Regions from separate parts of the Homo sapiens genome. Here region 1 is linked to region 2. The links are contacts of gene promoters, found by promoter capture Hi-C in blood cells and fetal thymus (Javierre and others, 2016). All regions are on one chromosome and are shown on one strand. Each heading gives the region's core, a stretch centred on a gene start or on the middle of the fragment in contact. The rest is flanking DNA. Distances are from core to core; before and after follow the strand shown.

The links. Contacts are between HindIII fragments. The CHiCAGO score rates a contact against its expected background, and 5 or more counts as called.
Region 1: a fragment that was not itself captured here is called in contact with the fragment with the promoter of SLC6A3 in region 2 in 5 of 17 cell types (neutrophils, naive B cells, total B cells and 2 more); the score reaches 7.3 in neutrophils.

What each region holds. Positions count from the first base shown.
Region 1 is chr5:1,647,568-1,654,342 of GRCh38, reverse strand. No RefSeq gene overlaps it. Among named protein-coding and RNA genes, the nearest start is that of MIR4277, 58 kb to the left of the region's middle. The HindIII fragment of the contact is 4,657 bases long and covers 885-5,541 here.
Region 2 is chr5:1,443,659-1,450,439 of GRCh38, reverse strand. It overlaps SLC6A3 (solute carrier family 6 member 3), which reads left to right and starts at 5,000. Exons shown (of 15, transcript NM_001044.5): 1 at 5,000-5,092. RefSeq lists an enhancer at 3,863-4,362. The HindIII fragment of the contact is 13,596 bases long and covers 495-6,781 here.

The sequences.
Region 1 (6,775 bases), core at 1,964-4,463, 210 kb before region 2:
GGGCCGGGCACCTGGAACAGGGTGGTCCTGGGGCGGCCACATCCACTCCTTCCAGGTCAGTTCCTGGTGACCCTCGGCCTGCAGTCGGCCTTGCTGAATTCTTTTAGGCCACCCGGATACCCCCTGCTACGCGTCCAGCTGTTGATCGCCCACTGACCTGTAGAAGACCTGGTCAGCCCCTCTGTCTTCCGTCACCCACGGAGGCGTCCGCAGATGCTCAGCGCAGCCCGCCCGGCCCTGCACAGACCCGAGGCGGCACCAGGGGGCGCTGCCGGCCCGAGGACGCGGGCGCGGGGCGGAGGCTGCGGGGCAGGAGCCGCTGTGCGCGTTCAGGCAGCTGCCCGGGACCCCTGGCACCGACCGCAGCCCCCAGAGGCCCCCGGGGGGTTTCCGCCTGAGCCTAAACCGAAGACAGGGCCTGTTTTCAGTCATCCCGACCCCACAGACTCAGCCCGTTAGTTCCCGCGCTGCCCGGCGCCCTAGTACCCAGAGCTGGTGGGGACTCCAGGCCACCAAAGGCAGGGGCGGGGCGGGCGGTTGAAGGAAGATTGGGACACGGAGAAGAGGGACAAGGCCTGGGGCCCGAGGGGTCAGGACGCTCTGCCAGCCTCACCACCCGCAACACCCAGGCACGGACGCACGCACACACTCCACACGTGTGAACACGCACGCATGGCTGCACACACGTGCACAGAGAGGCACAGCCTGCAGGAACACAGTTGCACGCACACAGGCACAGGCACGCTCCCTCCCTCATCCTCTCACACACACCCCAGGTGCAGACACCCCCACCCAGAGGACGCAGCTCAGATGCAGAAACAGGCTGGGTCACAAGAGCTACGGGAGGCGGCCCCTGCTGTCCGGTGTCTTCTCTGGGGAAAGCTTTTCCGGAGCCTGATGGAGGAAGACAGAGGAAAGAGACCTGTGTTCCCTGATGCACTGGCCAGCCGCTTCCCGGGGACGGGGAGGCAGCAGCCAGGTCCATCCGTCTGGGGAGTCAGGCGCGATGTGTGGCCCCCACAAGGTCCCCCCAAAAAAAAAGAACCTGAGAACGCTGGAGCACGGAGGGCCCAGAGGCGTGAGAAGCTCAGACCCCTGGACAGGGGACCCCACCCCACACGTAAGGCCACACGCCATCGGCTGACCTGGCACTCCGAGAGGACCCAGCTCCCAGTCTCCCCAGCTAGCTCTCAAAACACGAACGTCAAGTTTTCATCGGGAAACCGGCGCTGTCAGTGGCTTCCACCACCAAGCTAGCTCTGCCTGGCTGTCACCCAAATGCCAAGGGCCTGTTTTGGAAAGCATCAACCACAAGTTCCTTGTGAGGCCTCGGCGTGGCCTGCCAGGGTCCCTCCCCTCACAGAGAGACACCCGGCCCAAGCTGGCTCTTCCCCACCGCCCAAGCCTCAGCCACGCCCCATCTTCCTCGTGTCCCCCCAGCAAGTCACCAGGCTGGTGGGGGCCCAAGGAAGCAGGAGCAGAGTCTACTCTGATCGTGTTCATTCCTAAGTCCCTCCCTCCTGCCCCAACCTAAAACCCACTTGTGGGGAAGGAGGGCCAGTCCAGCCTCCAACAGGGAGGGCACTCCTGATATCCTCCCCTGGACCCTTTGCCCTCAGGGCCCCCCACACTGGGTGTGACATAGGGTGGCCCCTGGGAGCACTTGGCTGCTGTCCTGCACAGGGCACCTGGGAGACCCACAGCATCCTCCCTGCACCCGGCCCTCGCCCCACCTCACAGCATCCTGCGAGGCTGGCCAGATCCCATGGCCACACGGCCAGATCATGGATTTCCAAGCCCTGGCTCTCTCCTACATCCTGTTACACTCATGTGGTCCCTGGAGTGGGTTAGGGACAGCATGGCCAGCCTGGCCCTCTGGAGAAGCACGGAACTGTGGTGGGAGCAGGCAGAGGGACAGGCCGCCATGGATTGTTCCAGGACCCCCCATGGCGAGGGACCCCATTCTCCCTGAGAATTTATCTGTTCTTGTCCCACTCTCAGGCTCCTCCTAAGAATGGGCCCTGCCCTTCCCTTGCCCAGCACCTCCCCCACAGCCTCTGCTTGTGCACCCACCCTGCCCCACATTCGGGGGCCTGAGGAGCCCTCACCTTGAGACCCCTCCTCTCGAAAGGTCCCTGACCACCCACCCACTCCAGGCACCCCCTTCTTCCCCAGGGAACTTCCACCCTGTCTGGGCCATTGCTCCAGACCCTCCATCCCCTCATCAACCTTCGGGGCAGGAGATCAAAGAAAAACCAGGCTGCCTTGTTCTCAGCAGGAGCTCAGCAGGAGCCCAGGGCCTGGCAGAGGCTCTTCGGGTCACAGGATGAGCCAAGGAAGGGAAGAGTGACACTGTCCCAGGCCCCGAGGACCCAGGCCCCATGCCCCCATAGGCCCTGCCCCACAGGCCGGTCCTCCCCCAGCCCCACCCCTCCCCAGACCTCATCCCTCCCCAGCCTTACCCTCCCCAGCCCTGACATCTCCAGGCCACCCCTCCCCAGGCATCATCCCTCCCCAGCCTTGCCCTACCCCTGCCCTGCCCTCTGTGGCCCCCCCCTCCCCAGCCCCACCTTCCCCAGGCCTCACCCCTCCCCAGGCCTCATCCCTCCCCCAGCCCCACCCCTCCCCAGCCCTACCTTCTTCCAGCCCCACCTTCCCCAGGCCTCACCCCTCCCCATCCCCCACTCTTCCCAGGCCCTACCCTCCCCAGGCCTCACCCCTCCCCATCCCCCACTCTTCCCAGGCCCTACCCTCCCCAGGCCTCACCCCTCCCCAGGCCTCATCCCTCCCCAGCCCCGCCCTCCCCTGACCCCACTCTCCCCAGCCCCACCCTTTTCTGGCCCTGCCCTCCCCAGGACCCACCCCAGCCCTCACGGTGCGTCTGTCCAGCGAAGCTGTCTGGATCCCATGGCTGCACTGCCAGGTGGTGAGCTTCCAAGCCCTGGGCTCCCAGGACTCTGTCACTTTAGGGATCCCCTCCCACCCACCTCCAAACTCCTCATACCCCCCACCACCCTCACCCGAAGCCCCTGCTTCCCCACACCCGGGATGAACACCCAGTAATTAAGATGTTCAAGTATTTTCTTTCTTTCCATTTCTTTCTATTTACACACCTTCAAATTAAAATTGGAATAAAGTCGTCTGTATAACTTAATGCTCTCACTTAGCACGACCCTCTCATGAGTGTTTTCTCATGTTACTGGAAGTTCTTCAGCAGCACTGTCTACCTGTAGCGGCTGCCGAACACGACAGGATTTGCATTTGCCAGAATCGATTGAACTACTTCCATGAGGTTGGAAAGACGGACATTTAGGCCCTTTATTTCTTTATTTTATTTTTACCAACATTTTCTAAATGCTGCAAAATGAACACCTGGACCGTTTTGTTGTTTACTTGTTTACTCCTCCACATAGATCAGGGGTCTGCAAACGTGCTCTGCAGACAGCTAGAGAGTCAGTATTGTGCTGGGGGCGGGGACGGGGAAGATGGTCTCCACCGCACACTCTTCCTTATTCGCTAATCGTTTTCACAGTAACGGACCATTCCGAGCTCTTGGCCGTGCAGCAACAGGCCACAGAGCGGATTTTGACCACTTGCCAGTTTATCACCCTAAAGGCAGCATTGCTAGGTCAGCCACATTGGAAGGCTTCTGGTGCATATTACCAAACCCCTCTCCAGAACAAAATTATGCTGATACTTTTGCTACTAGTATCTGAAAACGCATATTCCTCTGAATATTTGCCAACATTGACTATTACTATTTTTAAGCAAATTGCTAAATTCATCGTTAAAACTCAAATTGCATCTTCCTGGGTTGTTGTGATTCTATTTCCACATCTAACTTCATTCGATTGCGCCTTCCTTCTTCCCGTAAGACCTCTAGACACTGAGGACATCAGATGTCAAAACCGTCACAGCGTGCTTCCGGTTTTTGTTGGATTTTGTTTGTTTTGTTATGGTGTTTTTTGAAGTGTCACAGGGTTTAATGTCTTTGTAATCAAATCTAAAATTTTTTGAAAAGTGTTTATTGATACATAATAATTGTACATATTTACAGGGCAGTTGTGATATTTTGATTGTGCACACAGCATGTAGTGATCAAATCAGGGTATGTAGTATATCCATCACTTGGAACATCTACTCTTTCTTTCTGTTGGGAAGATTCCAGTTCTTCTAGCTATTTTGAAATATACAGCGGACCAGGTGCAGTGGCTCACACCTGTAATCCCAGCGCTTTAGGAGGCCAAGGCAGGTGGATCACCTGAGGTCAGGAGTTCGAGACCAGCCTGGCCAACATGGCAAAACCCTGTCTCTACTGAAAACACAAAAATTAGCCAGGCATGGTGGCACACACCTGTAATCCCAGCTACTCGGGAGGCTGACAGGAGAATCGTTTGAACCCAGGAGGCGGAGGTTGCAGTGAGCCGAGATCATGCCTCCACTGCACTCCAGCCTGGAGTGAGACTCTGTCAAAAAGAAATAAAGAAAGTAAGAAAGAGAGAAAGAGAGAGAGAGAGAAAGAAAAAGAAAGAGAGAGAGAGAGAGAAAGAGAGAAAGAAAGAGAAAGAAGGAAAAGAAAGAGAGAAAGAGAGAGAGAGAAAGAAAGAAGGGAGGGAGGAAGGGAAGGAAGGAAGGAAGGAAGAAAGGAAGGAAGGAAACAGTAAATGATTGTTGCCTTTGGTCTGTGAACTGTTCTATGGAACATTGGAACTTACTCCTTCCCCTGACTGCATGTTTGTGCCCCGTAACCAGCCTCACTTTCTGTCTGCCTCTCACCCACACACCCTGCCCAGCCTCTGGGAACCACCAGCCAACTCTCTGCCTCTGTGAGAGCCACTCTTTCAGTGCCCACAAATGAGTGAGAACATGGTACATTTGTCTTTCTACCCCGGCTTACTTCCCTTAACATGACAGCCTTCAATTCCATCCATGTTGTTGCAGACGACATGATTTCATTCTTGTGTATGGCTGCAGAGTATTCCATCGCGAATAGATATCACGTGTTCTGTATCCATTCATCCATTGATAGGCACCTAGGTTGATTCCATATCTTTGCCATTGTGAACAGTGCTGCAGTAAACAGGGGGGCCCAGATTCCCTTTCACACAGGATTCCCTTTCCTTTGGATAAATACCCATCAGCGGGGATGGCTGGATCATAGGGTAGCTCTATTTTTAATTTTTTAAGAACTCAATCCTGTTGTCCATAGCGGCTGTACTCATTTACATTCCCACCTACAGTGTGTATGGTTCCCCTTTCTCCACATCCTCGCCAGCATTTGTTATGGTTTTTGTTTTTAATTAAAGCCATCTGAACTGGGGTAGATGATACCTCATTGTGGTTTTGATGTGCATTTCCCCAATGATTCATGATGTTGAGCATTTTTTCGCTTGCTTTTTGGGGCCAATATCCAGAATACACAAGGAAATCAAACAACAGAAAAAAATAGATAAATAAATAATCCCATAGAAAGTAGACAAAAGATCATTTCTCAACAGAAGACATATAAGTGGCCAAAAGGTTTATGGAAAATTCTAAGCTTTTAATCTTTGTGTTCCTTTCTTGTTTCAAGCAGTGTTTCTCTTTTTCTTTCCTTTTTTTTTGAGATGGAGTCTCACTCTGTTGCCCAGGCTGGAGTGCAGTGGTGTAATCCTGGCTCACTGCAACCTTTGCCTCCTGGGTTCAAGCGATACTCCTGCCTCAGCCTCCCAAGTAGCTGGGATTACAGGCATGCACCACAACGCCCAGCTAATTTTTGTATTTTTAGTAGAGACAGGGTTCCACCATGTTGACCAGCCTGGTCTTGAACTCCTGACCTCAGGTAGTCCTCCCACCTTGGCCTCCCAAAGTGCTGGGATTACAGGCATGAGCCACTGCACCCAGCCCAAGCAGTGTTTTTCAAAGCCACGTCTCAGGACCACCTCAAGAATGCAGACATGAGGGTGGGATCAGCAGTTCTGGGGGGGGTGGGGGAGCTGAGCGCCCCACCAAAGAAACGCTCACCTGTTTTGCAGAGCAAAGGATTCCACAGGGGGAAAAACAAAAAGCAAAAACAAGAACTTCCTGATCACCTTTTATTTTTGAGACAGTCTCAGTCTGTCACCCAGGCTGGAGTGCAGTGGTGCAATCCCAGTTCACTGCAACCTCTGCCTGCTGGGTTCAAGTGATTCTCATGCCTCAGCCTCCCAAGTAGCTGGGATTACAGGTGCAGGCCACCACGCCCAGCTAATTTTTTTTTTTTTTTTTTTTTTGTATTTTTGGTAGAGACAGGGTTCGCCATGTCGGCCAGGCTGGTCTCAAACTCCTGATCTCAAGTGATCTGCTCGCCTCGGATTCCCACAGTGCTGAGATTACAGGCATGAGCCACCACGCCCGGTGGCTGATCACCCAAGTTCTATCTGCTCCTCCTGGAGCCTGCCAGAGCCTTCCCACCTGGAAGCATCCGAGGGACTGAGGCTGGGATTTGGGGGAAAGGAGGCTGTCTGAGGAGGCCACAGCTGGTGAGCTGCCGGGATAGACCCACAGGGCCTGGGGTAACAGGCAGGGGTTTGGACACTGTCTTTCGAGTGACAGGGAGATGCTGGTGGGCACCAAGCAGGGTGGTGGTGCCATTACCTTGGAAAGTGGAAGGCTGCTTCTGCCTCAGAGAGCCATGGGCTGGAGAGAGGCGCCCGTGGGCTAGAAACCTCACACGATTAAAACGCCTATGACAGAAGGTTGGAGGGTGGCTTTTGCTTGTAAACATGATTTTTATTATCATTATTATTACTATACT
Region 2 (6,781 bases), core at 3,751-6,250:
ATGAAGAACTGACATCTCATTAATATTGAGCCTTTCAGTCATAAACATACACACTCCTCTGCTTGTCTAGACTTTCAAAAGTTTCTCACAGCAATGGATTCTAGGTTTTCGGTGCACAAGTCTCGGATACGGTTTATCCCCAAGCATTTTGTTTCGGATGCTATTGTAAGTGAAATTATTTTAGGTTTTATTTTAGAATTGTTTGCTGCCAGTACATAGAAATACAATTGGTTTTCATCAGATCCCATGGCCTTGCTAAATTCATTTATAAATTCTAGTAGTTTTTTTTGTAAATTCCTCAAGATTTTCTACAAACATGAAATCTACCAAGAAAAATCTTGTCATCAATATTTCAATTTTTTTGAAGCCTCCTGCTCTGTAGCCAGACCATTCGCCACTGCCTATGACTACATTTAGGGCCATCCTCTGGCCATCCCTCCTTGGCTAGATGATGAACCTGATGCATGGTTTGAATATGTGCCCACTGGGAAGCTTTCTTTCACTGGTCTTTCACAGAAGGCCATGATGACACAGCCTTTCACTTTCTGGTGGGGGCAGTGTGCTGTGTATAGACACATGTAATCCAGGCCCCAACGCATGCATTTTCTCCGTTCAATGTCATAAGAAACTCTCATGTAGCCAGAGGTCTGGGTTAAGGAAGCGGTCTCCATGCAGCAAGAGTGGGTGCTTGTTCATGGAACTTACCGCGCCTTCCAGACCTGCTCAAGCCTTGTGTCGTAAACATTCCACCTGAGGACGGCAGGATGCTGTCTACACAACCTCTGTGGGTCCGATAACAAATAGCTTCTGCTGGGCCGCTCAGCTTCTATGGTAACAGAGCTCCCTGAGTTTCTGCTATGGCTCAGGGCTGCTCTTACTCAAAAGGAGAGGACGTATTTTCAGGAGAGCGTTCAGCTCTTATTCAACTGTTATTTTCTGCGCTGCCTACAACATCTCCGTCTGCCACAGACCCTCCAATTCCCACTGGTTCTGCCAGATCAGTGTTCTCAAAGTGTGGTTCCTGGGCCAGCAGTGTCAGTGTCACCTGAGAACTTTCTAGAAACGCAGGTCCTCAGGTCCCACCTCAGACCTACTGAACCTGCGTCTCTAAGGATGGAGCGAGGTGATCTGTGCCTCCTATGCATGTAAAGGTTTATGTAGGTGACTGTGATGCCAGCTAAAGTCGGAGAACAACACCAGATTGTGTGGCCTCCTGGGGCAGCAGTTTGCCCATCCAGACCAGCAGCAGAATCTTTCTTACTCTGGGCCCTACTCAAAACCAAACGCTTTATGAAGAACACAAAACAGGCCAGAGAAGCATCCCCGAGTGTCTTGCACCTCACCTTGCAAACCGGAAGAGCCTCACCAGGTATGATACTTCTTTCTTAGTGGTAGTCTTGCTTGCCAGAGACAGCGTGTTTTCTTTCATTTTGGATATATATTTTGACCAATCAGACCAATGGACCCACAGAAAGTTCACCAAGGTGGCAGGTTTTGAAAATGTGTTATTTTCTCTTTCAATTTTTAGCAAGCACGTGTCTTACCAAGGCATCTTGGCATTTTTCATTTTTTGCTCCCCAGGTTGATTCAGCCTGATGTCATCAGTGTGGCAGACCACTGTGACATGCTGTGCAGTGGCAAGACCATCAAGATGTCTGTGACTAAAACCAGCAGTGAGCCGGAAAATGATACAGCTCTGAGAGAAGACATTGGAAGTGTACTGCTGTCCCTGCCATGCGAGAGGAAACTATCTTCCTCCTGAGGTGGCCCCCGGGGAGGGCACAGGGGTGCAGCAGTGAGCAGGGCCTCCTGCCTGGAGCCAGCGCCTTCCATCATTCTCAGAACCTGGACAGACAAGGTCTGGGATCTGACCTCCCACACCCCTGGACAAAAGCCACTCCTGCCTACTGGTCCCCTCACCCTTGCCCTCCCCAAGCCCCCTACCCCCAGGGCCTTCCCAGCACCAGTGAGAGGTCAGGGTCTTTAAAGTCTGAGCTGGGCTCCCTGGGACTTCCTCTGAAAGCACACAGGACACCCTCAATATAGTAAATACGCAGGCAGGTAAATGACTGTCATCTCACTGCCACTGTCCTTGTCCCCTCTCAGATACAGCACTCATGGGGGGAGCATCCACGCTGTCTTCCAAATCAGGCGAGACACGGCGCAACATCCAGCACTGAGGGCCTCCCAGGAGGCAGCACCCAAGGAGGGGGGGACCCGTGGGGCAAGGTTGCTTTGGAGACAGCAGTCAGTGGCCAGGGGCTCCTTGTGGGCTCTGCAGCTGCGGTCCCAGCCAGTGGGGAGAGGTGCCGAGCATGGGCAGGAAGTGCAGAGGCAGGGGGGCTCCACCTGCCTGCACCCAACGCCCTGAGCCCACAGCAGCCATAGCAGCAACCACAATGATAATAAAGCCGACTTGGCATTTAGGGCAAAGTTCCAAGCATGCAAAGGTCGGCCGTTTGATCAGGTCTGATCAGCTCATAACCACACTGCTTCTACCTGCACAGTTCACGGAGCATTCCTGTTGTGGGAGGATGGAGACCCATGGGTCTGGCAGCTGCGCTTTCTCTGTGTCATCCATGAGCCCAACTCCCGCAGTTAGTTTGTTCTTAGAGCACCCAAAGCTCCTTTATCCTAATTCATGTGGTTGGAAGTCGGGGTTGAGGCAGGGGTGGAGGAATGCTCTTTGTCTTGGCAGAGTGCAGGTTACATGCGTGTGATCACTCAGTGGCCCCTCCTGAGTGTGGCAGGTGCATTCTCTGTGTGCTACTGGTCAGTAAGGATGTGGCTGCCTGGATCTGTGTGACCTCTAGTCCCTGCACCTTCCTGCCTGTACCCTGTTAGCTTTGGGTCACAATTCTGCGCTCCTGCAGCGCTTGCAATCCCTTCCCAAACGCTGTTTGCCTGTGTGTTGTTTTGTTTCGAGACAGGGTCTCATCCTGTGGCCCATGGCGCAATCTCAGCTCACTACAACCTCCACCTCCCAGCTTCAAGCTATTCTCCCACCTCTGCCTCCCCAGTAGCTGGGACTACAGGTGTGGGCCACCATGCCTGGCTAATTTTTTTTTTCAAAGTCAGGGTTTTGCCATGTGGCCCAGGCTGGTCTCAAACTCCTGGCCTCAAGAGATCCTCCTTCCTCGGCCTCCCAGAGTGCTGGGATTACAAGCGTGAGCCCTCACTCCTGGCCTGTGTATTTTTAATATACCTGAACATCCATTCTCTCTGTGTGTTTTATTTAACAGCCTCCCTTAGTCACCTGCAAAGTCTTTTCCTTGGGAGACTGTTTCCTCAACCCTGCTGCTCTGGGGCCAAGCCCTGGCTCACTCCTTTTTATTGAAACCTGTGCCATGGAGATAATAGGGGTAGAGAGATCCCTTCTGTGGCAGCCACTGACACACTACAGCTTCGAGGTGGCACATCCCCCTCTCCTGAAGTCCCCTCACCTCCCTGGCGATGAAGTCCCACCCCTGATGGGAGGTGGTGTCAGGAGGCCTTCAGGTGGTCAGGCCAGGAGGGCTCCACCCTGAGGAATGGGACCAGTGCCCTCATAAAACAGACCCCGGAGAGCTCTCCCCAGCCCCTAGCGTGGGGAGATACAGGGAGAGAACTGTCTGCAACCCCGAAGCGGCCCTCACCAGACACAGAGTCGGCCAGGCCTTGGCCTCGGGACACCGGAACCGTTAGAACTGAAGGCTTCTGTGTGAGCCCCCAGGCTGTGGAGTTTTTTGTCATGGCAGCCCCAGGGGGTCACTAGGCTCCCACTTGATTCCAACTCAGCGTGAAGTCACAGCCCTGAGTGCCTTCTGCCTGGGTGCCAGCCCCGGAGCCGGGGAGCGGGGGAGCGGGGGGCGGGGAGGGGAGTGGTGGTGTGCGGGGAGTGCGGGGCGGGCGCAGGGGGTGGGGCACCGCGCTGCGGGCGGGTACTGCGGAGTCAGGCACCAAGGGTCCCTGCCTCCCTCACTGCTGAGCGCGGGCTGCAGGCTGGAATGGCTGGAGAGCCCCAGGGCTCGCCTGGACGCCCAGGGCAGGGTGCTCACGGGAGCATCGAGGGTACACGGGGAGGAACGCCGGGGTTCGGGCGACCCTAGGGGCGACGCACAGAGCTGGGCGCGGCCACTCACCTCGGTGCCTTCTAAGGACCTGGACATCCTGGGCCTTGGCGGCCTGGGGGCTCCATTCCTCCGCGCGCTGAATGGAAGAAATCCCGCCCGGGCATCTCGGAAGGAAAGCCTCGGAGTCCATTCGGCCCTGGAGCCGGATACCAACCGCCAGGGCTTTCCAGGCCCGTCCCGGGAAATGGTTTTCTTAGGCGAGTGCGAGGCGGGCCCCTCGGTTCCGATGCAGGCGCACTAGATGCCGGCAAGGCGGGGACTAGGCCTAGGGGACCTCGGTCGCCTCGAGGTCGCGGAGACCCCAAGGCCACGGAAGGACCCGCGTCTCCGCAGCCCGCACGCCGGGAAGCGTGCAGAGTCCTCGGCGGGGTCCCGAGCCCGCTGGTCAGAGCGTGGAGCGGCGGGGTGGGAGGGACGTGGTCCCCAGAGCGCGGGGCCACCGTAGGGGCCCCTGATGGGGAGGGAGGGAAGGGTCGGCCCGACGGGGTCCCAGCAGTTCCCCGCGCGCAGCCGCTCGGCTCCCTCCCCGTCCAGCTGGGAGCCGCCAGCCCTGGGCGTCCGAAGATAGCGGGTGCCCGGGGCAGCCCCCAGGGGTGCGGGCGAGGGCGCAGGGCGGCCCAGACAGTTCCCGCGTGGAAGGCGCCCGTCTAGATCCGCGACGTCTCGGACCCCCAGGCCCCCGCACCCCGTGTCCGAGGCTCCGGGACGCGCAGGACAGTGGAGCCGTGGCCGCCGCTTGCTCCCAGCCATCTGCGTCCGGGAGGCGGGGGCGGGGGCGCGGCCCGGGGAGGTGAGGAGGAGGAGCCAGGACGCGAGGGCGACCCCGTCGGCGGGAGGGCGGGGCGGGGCGGACCCTGTCTACTGGATAAGAGCCCGAGGCCGAGGCTGAGACCGCCCAGCGCTGCGGAGCGGGAGGGGAGGCTTCGCGGAACGCTCTCGGCGCCAGGACTCGCGTGCAAAGCCCAGGCCCGGGCGGCCAGGTGAGGCCAGCGTCGCTCGCGGCATCGGGGCGCCCCGCTCCTTCCGCAGACCCCGAAGTGGGGCGCAGGGGCGGGGGCCGGGGACCGGGCACAGTCTGGGGTCCCCGCGTCCCGCAGACCGCGCCGTCTCCAAAGTCGCCAACAGTCGCGGGTGCCGAGCGCCCCCCGATAGCGCCACATGGGACCCTGAGGCCGTCCGAGGCGCGAGGAGGGTGCAGGGCTGCCCCTGGCCCCGCTCCAGGCTCAGAACCGGGTGGGCACCTGGTGCAGTCACCGGCTTAGGGGACGCGTGGGTGTCTATGGCTGTGACTCGGGGGTCCTGGTTTCTTCTCGTGGAACTTAACCCTACTAGGGGTGCGGCGCATCCCAGATCCGATCGGAGTGGGTTTTGTACACCGCCGCTCCATCTCGCGGGGGCTTTGTCTGTGTTGGGGGTGGTGGCGGGCGCGGGCTGCGCGCTGGTGCTCTGGGCAGGGCGGGGAGGCCGGGCGAGGACTCGCCAGGCAGCGCCGCTTCTTGTTCTGGGCGCGGTGAGGAAGGACGCTTTCTAACGGGCCACATTTTGCTGTGTAGACCCAAAACTCGCCTCTGAGGCCCCGCGTTCAGGAGCGGGGTCAGGTGGCCCCAGGGCGGCGGCGGCTTGCCGGAGACTCGCGAGCTCCGCACCCGACGCCCTCTCCCAACGCGGCCTCCTGCTCGCGCCGCGGAACCCCTTCGTCGGGTGTTTTACCCACCGGAGGGGTCGTGCCGGTTGAGGTTGTCACCGGGTGCGTGGCATAGCTCGTGATAGCTCATGGGTGAGGTTTTGTGCAAACTTGGATGCAGGGAAAGTTGCCTGTTAGAGCCTCCACCTGCGACCTGCTTCAGTCGTTGTGTGTGTGTGCGCACCTGTGTGAGTGTGAGTGTGTATGTGTGTAAGTGTATGTGCTCGCCTGTGTGTGTGTGAGTGTGTATGTGTGTTTGTGAGTCTGTGTGTGTCTGTGTGTCTGTGTGTGCGTGCGCTCGACTGAAACACGCTGCTGCTGGATCCAAATGACAGAAGTCGCCCTGGCTGGGGCGGTGTAGACGCTCCTGCTCTCCTGCTCAGCGTTGCAGGGGGGTTTATGTAGCCGTTTGGACAGGATTTCCCGGGTTACCCTGCTGGCCCAGGAGCTAGTTCCCGCGATGAAGCCCTGTCCATCCTCCGCCCAGCTCTCTCACGCGGGGTGGTGCCACCTGCCCTAGGTGGATGTGGCTTGTACAGACACTTTTTGAGGAAGCAGTTGTGATGGTTATGTCTAAACTCTCTTTACAGTGGCTGATTTTGCTTATATAAATTTTGCTCTTTATTACTGAGTATAAACAATACAAGCCCAGGCTTGGTGGCTCATGCCTGTCATCTCAGCACTTTGGGAGGCTGAGGCAGGAGGATCGCTTGAGACCAGGAGTTCAAAACCAGCCTTGGCAACAATAGTCAGACCCTGTCTCTACAAAAAAACAACAACAACAACAAAAAAACACACACAAAAATAACTTAGCCGGTGCTGTGGTGCACACCTGTAGTCTCAGCTGCTCAGGAGGCTGAGGTGCAAGGATCACTTGAACCTAGGAGGTTGAGGCAGTGAGTTGTAATCACAACTGTATTCCATCCTGGGTGACAGAGCGAGACCTCATGTTAAAAAAGAAAAAAAAAAGAAAAAAGAATACAGA